Regions from separate parts of the Homo sapiens genome. Here region 2 is linked to region 1. The links are contacts of gene promoters, found by promoter capture Hi-C in blood cells and fetal thymus (Javierre and others, 2016). All regions are on one chromosome and are shown on one strand. Each heading gives the region's core, a stretch centred on a gene start or on the middle of the fragment in contact. The rest is flanking DNA. Distances are from core to core; before and after follow the strand shown. Region 1 holds the start of NUDT16 (nudix hydrolase 16). Region 2 holds the start of SRPRB (SRP receptor subunit beta).

Region 1 (2,865 bases), core at 142-2,641:
CTAATAGGTTGGTATCATCTCCACTTAACAGATGAGCTGCTGGGATCTGAGAGAGTTAAGTGACTTGTTAAGGTCACAAACCTGTTTCTGGGTGGGTCCGGACTCTTTCCCACCATATGCCGTCACTTACAGGCTGTGAGTTTATGCCCAGCCCCCCTCAAGGAGCTGCCTCCTGCTTTCTATTGCATAATCAATATCGACACCTGGTGTAGGGGCGCTCTGCAGGGTGGGGAAGGCCTGGCCTGGAGTGAGGGATCCTGCATCTCAGCATCAGGCCCTGAGTAGGCCTCTGCCCTTGTGGTAGGGTAACCCACCCTCCTTCATAGCTCAGAGGTCTGAGGGGGTTTGAGGGAAAGACTAGAAAGCCTAGGAGGCTTCTTCTATCTCTCACCCCTCCTCACTCCCAGTCCTGTGCCACAGGATTTCACTCACAGCTCCTTCCACCCCCACCCTTCCCCTGAAAATCTCACTGCCCTGTGACTTCTCTATGTGCCACTCCCTGTGCGTCAGACCCCCACGATCAGCTGCCCACTGCCTATGGCCACCCCAATTCCTTAGAACTACACTTATCACTGCTCACCCTTCTCCTACTCTCCCCCTCTCAGAAAATGACACCACATCCAGGAAACTCGGAACCACCACTAGCCCAGCGCTCCCTCTTCCCCATTCACTCAGTCACCAAGTCCCCTCAATTTCACCACTCAAGATAGTTGTCAGACCATGGCGCCTGTCCATCTCCATTTCCCTAGGATAGGCCTTGGTGTCTGAGGCCAACCCTGCCTCATTTCCTCCTAACCCCCACCCAGGCCTTGTGCTTTGTGTACCACCACACCCAACCAAAGGTAGTTATTACTTCTTTGGCTCCCAGCACTCAACTGAGCGCCCCAGCTCTTCCTCACCTGCCGGGACACTCCAGCTGACTCCAGATTGCGACGCAGGCGTTTACGTACCAGCCTTTCTCCAGGTTCAGGGCGCTGCCACATCTTCAGCCCCGACCCGCCGCAAGTCTCATTTCCTCCTAACCCCAACCCAGGCCTTGTGCTTTGTGTACCACCGAACCCAACCAAAGCTAGTTCCCTGACTTGCTCTTTTGGCTCCCAGGAGCCTTTAGGTACCGGCCTTGCGCCAGGTTTAGGGCGCGGCCACACCTCTAGCCCCGCCCCACCGCAGGCCCAACCCAGAGGCTGCTTTCGGTTACCCTAGGGTTCCTGGGCCCTGGACTTCAACCCGGTCTGCAAGCCCCGCCCTGATTAGCTGCCTCCCGCACCGGTCGCGGCGCCCCGCCCCCAGGCGCCTAGGTTCCTCCCCTTATCCCTGCAGGGATTGGGCCTTGCAGCACCGCCCAGGCTCGGATTGGTCCGAGGTGAGACCCGCCCCTCTGCCCATTGGGCCTTCGGGACAGCAGAGGAGCAGTGTCCGGCCATGGCCGGAGCCCGCAGGCTGGAGCTAGGCGAGGCCCTGGCGCTGGGGTCGGGCTGGCGTCATGCGTGCCACGCTCTCCTCTACGCGCCGGACCCTGGGATGCTCTTCGGCCGCATCCCGCTGCGCTACGCCATACTGGTGAGAAGGGGGCGCGCCCGGCCACTTTCTGCCTGAGCCCCGCACCCTCTCTGGTGGTCTCCTCTGGGGCGCCCCTGCCAATCCCCGCTTCCCCCTCCCGCAGATGCAGATGCGCTTCGATGGACGCCTGGGCTTCCCCGGCGGATTCGTGGACACGCAGGACAGAAGCCTAGAGGACGGGCTGAACCGCGAGCTGCGCGAGGAGCTGGGCGAAGCGGCTGCCGCTTTCCGCGTGGAGCGCACTGACTACCGCAGCTCCCACGTCGGGTCAGGGCCACGCGTTGTGGCCCACTTCTATGCCAAGCGTCTGACGCTCGAGGAGCTGTTGGCTGTGGAGGCCGGCGCAACACGCGCCAAGGACCACGGGCTGGAGGTGGGACCAGCCTGGGACTCTGTCCCTTTCCCAATTTCCTCTTCTCCCAAAGCTTTCTCTCCCCCAAGAAAGCATCCCTGGAGAAAAGTCTTTGCCCCTCTGACCTTGCCCTCTCCCCAGCTTTCTTGGTGGAGTTGGGATCGTGATCATCTATACTCTGAATTAGTACTGCCAACCTGGGCTTTCTGTAAAGGTCTTTCCCACCCTTTACCAGGAGAGATCCTTTCTAGAACACACTCATCCATGTCTCTCTGCTGTTCCCTATTGACAGTGTGATAGATTATCACATTATCTAGGTGTGGCAACCTAGGTTTTATTCTTGGGGTTTGCTTTTCTTGTGTAGGAGATGTGGCCCTGATATTTCAGGCAGGGCTAGTAGATAGATTATGTATGAAGGTGGTTCTCAAAATTTGGCAGGTAGCAGAATCATCGGGGCGTCTTATTAAAATAGCGATTTCTCTCAGCATTCCTGCATTGGTGGTGGGGCGGGGGGAGAGGAAACCTGAGAATTTGTAGTTTTCAAAAGTTCCCAAATAATGCTGATGCAAATAATCTGAGGACCACATTTTGACAACCACTGGTGAAAGGGTATGAATACATCTTTGAGGCAGTAGCCACTAGAGGTTTAGAAGCAGATGTGGGAAAGATTAATTGATAGAGCTAGATAATATGTTTTGGGTCATTTTCCTGCAGAAGGTTGGGCCACTAGGCTTTAGTGAGGTGTGAGCCTTGGGCCTGGTTCTGCTGGAGTATTAAGGGGTGAGGCCTGATCTGCTGGAGAAAGGATGGAGTTAAGGGAATGAGCCACCTGGGGCCCTAGTGTCTCCTGTCTCCTTCCTTTTACAGGTGCTGGGCCTGGTGCGAGTGCCCCTGTATACCCTGCGGGATGGTGTAGGAGGCCTGCCTACCTTCCTGGAGAATTCCTTTATTGG
Region 2 (2,865 bases), core at 113-2,612, 2.4 Mb after region 1:
GGAACCACCATTCGCGTGAGGCTCTGCTCCCCGCGCCTGCGCAGAGTGCAGGGCCACGTCGCTTTTGCTGTACCGGGGACCACGCGTCTCATCCATGGCTTCCGCGGACTCGCGCCGGGTGGCAGATGGCGGCGGTGCCGGGGGCACCTTCCAGCCCTACCTAGACACCTTGCGGCAGGAGCTGCAGCAGACGGACCCAACGCTGTTGTCAGTAGTGGTGGCGGTTCTTGCGGTGCTGCTGACGCTAGGTAAAAGGCGGCCGGTGGTCATGGCGGGTTTGGGGCGGGCAGAGGTCCGGGCTTTGGCTGCACCGCTGCAGGCCGGGGACGCGGGGCTGAGAGGGCGCCTTGAGGGCATCAGGAGGGTGAGACCCACCCAGTCTACACCCCACCCTCTCTCCTGAAGCAGCGGCAGCAGCTGGGCGTTAAGGGGGATGCCGGGCAACCCCCGGAGTTAACGTCCTGGTCCTTGGGGCGCAGATTGCTCTTCGTCATCTGCCCTGTTACGCTTGAGCGCGCTGTTCCTCGCCTTCCGCTGTTCTCACTGCAAAGACTCAGGGTCTTGACACCAACTTTCAGCCTCCCGTGTTTGCGTGCGGGCGCTGGGATACCAAGGTAGTGAGATAGCACCTGAGTCCCAGTCAGAGTAAGGACTGCAAAGAAAAGTTGACAGTTGACAGTGCCTGGCTCTCAGTGGATCCCTAACAACAGCAATAGTAACCATTATGATAAAAGTCAGTTCCAGGTGAATGAGGTGTTTCGTCACAGACTTCTGTGAATTTCCCCACCCCAGCCATGCACATATACTGATTCCCAAGGCGTAATTTTTGTTGTTTTTCTCTGTCTATTCCACAGTCTTCTGGAAGTTAATCCGGAGCAGAAGGAGCAGTCAGAGAGCTGTTCTTCTTGTTGGCCTTTGTGATTCCGGGAAAACGTTGCTCTTTGTCAGGGTAAATGATTTCATTGACACCCCTGTTAAGCTTAATAGAAAATTTTATAGATCCCAGTATTCCTGTCATCTCACGGTTTATTTTGTAAAAGAAGCTGATGCTGTTAAATTTGGAAGTTAATTCTTGACTTACTTGGGAGAACAAAAAGACTCGTAGAAACCCATAATTGAGAAATATTGGTCATTTCTCCTTTTTTTTTTCTGTTTGCCCTTGCCAGATGCTGATATTTAGTCTTTATCACATTCAAGGATTTTATTTAATTAGTTTCATTCCAGAATAGCAGAAGGCATAGAAGCTAGTGTCCTACAGTTTATAATTCCTTCGTTAACAAATTCTTAGGACAGTTTATCGAAGACACTTTTTCACAGGGTGATCCTTCTTTGACATAGTGGGCTAGTTAGGCTTCTTTTTACTAATATTTATTTTTAATACATTTAGTATTTTTAACAGTGTATTTTAATGTGGTGAATAGGAGAGGTTTTCTGCTTTTTAACTCTTCTTTTTGAGAGTATAAATTATTTCCCTTCCATTAAAGAAATACCTCCATTTTTTTTTTTTTTTTTTTTTTGAGGGAGTGTCTCACTCCAATGCCCAGGCTGGAGTGCAGTGGCGAGATCTCTGCTCATTGCAGCCTTGACCTCTGGGACTCAGATGATTCTCCCACCTCAGCCTCCGAGTAGCTGGGACTACAGGCGTGCAACACTACGCCCGGCTGATTTTTTATATTTTTTGTAGAGATGAGATTTTGCCATGTTGCCCAGGCTTCAAATCATTTTTGTTGGTTAAAAATCTTTACAGAAGCTTGGCAAATTTGGCCACTAACTGTCTTTTGAGAATAATGTTGTTTTTATTCCACTGAGGAGTAAAATATGCAATTAATTAGATTTTTTTCTACAGGTAAAAAAAATCAATATCGTCTTTTTCACCTGTCGGAAGCAGCATTCATTTACTTAACCTTACACCTGGGAGACTTAGAATAATATAACTCAATTTAGGTGTGCTATTAAAATGTTGAATATCACCCATCTTGTTTTTTTTACAGTTGTTAACAGGCCTTTATAGAGACACTCAGACGTCCATTACTGACAGCTGTGCTGTATACAGAGTCAACAATAACAGGGTAAGATGTTTGTGGAGTTTTGGAGTCTGACAGTCTTACTTTACTGTGGTGTGTCAGTTAAGGACATTTTTAGGATGAGTTCATCTGAGGATGTAAGTACCATTTGTAGCTTATTTTTATGGAGAAACATATTCTTTGTGACAAATTCTCTTGACAATCTGTACAGTAGATTTAATCATGCCCTCCTCTGCATTGTTGTACCTTAATGTACAGTAATGTTATATCACATTTTATTCTTATTTTTTGTTTCTGTGTCTTCTTTCCAACTTTACAATGAGTTCTTAAGAGTGGGCATTAAACCTTTTAAGTTTTGAATAGGTAATACATGCACATGGGACAAAAATTCAAAAGGTTAGAAAAGATATTTGGTGAAAAGTAATTTTTCCTTTCCTTTCCCCACTACCTAGTTTTCTCCTCAGAAGCAGTGACTTACTTTTTTTTGTATGTAGTCTTCCGGATGTTCTGTGCATATACAAACATGTCTGTATATCCTTTATTGTTGTTTTTTTTTAAATGCTGTTCTGCCCATTATTTTTCTCATACGGCTGATACAACTTGGGCTTTTCTTATTGTCCTACATTTGTATACATAGTACCATCTGGTTGGTTTATGAGCTGCATAGTACTCCACTCTGTTGCTATACCATAAAATTAAATTCTTACTTAATCTGGACCGTGTTAATAGACATTTAGTTTTGTTATTATAACCTTTGCTTTTACAAACAGTGCTGCAATGGATATCTTACAGAGTATATATGAGTGTATTTCAAATATAAGGAATCATGGGGCCTGGCTTG

The links. The method cuts DNA at HindIII sites, captures the fragments that hold promoters and counts their contacts. A CHiCAGO score of 5 or more calls a contact.
Region 2: a contact is called between a fragment that was not itself captured here and the fragment with the promoter of NUDT16 in region 1, in 1 of 17 cell types (total B cells). The highest score is 5.4, in total B cells.

What each region holds. Positions count from the first base shown.
Region 1 is chr3:131,380,383-131,383,247 of GRCh38, forward strand. NUDT16 (nudix hydrolase 16) reads left to right here and starts at 1,392. Exons shown (of 3, transcript NM_152395.3): 1 at 1,392-1,560; 2 at 1,664-1,933; 3 at 2,780-2,865. The coding sequence starts at 1,423. It overlaps NUDT16-DT (NUDT16 divergent transcript), which reads right to left and starts at 1,093. Exons shown (of 4, transcript NR_038976.1): 1 at 951-1,093. RefSeq lists enhancers at 701-970, 1,262-1,831, 1,832-2,400 and a silencer at 1,081-1,380. The HindIII fragment of the contact is 2,474 bases long and covers 1-1,983 here.
Region 2 is chr3:133,805,755-133,808,619 of GRCh38, forward strand. It overlaps SRPRB (SRP receptor subunit beta), which reads left to right and starts at 61. Exons shown (of 7, transcript NM_001379313.1): 1 at 61-248; 2 at 855-949; 3 at 1,992-2,069. The coding sequence starts at 95. RefSeq lists enhancers at 113-322, 433-482, 513-622. The HindIII fragment of the contact is 771 bases long and covers 978-1,748 here.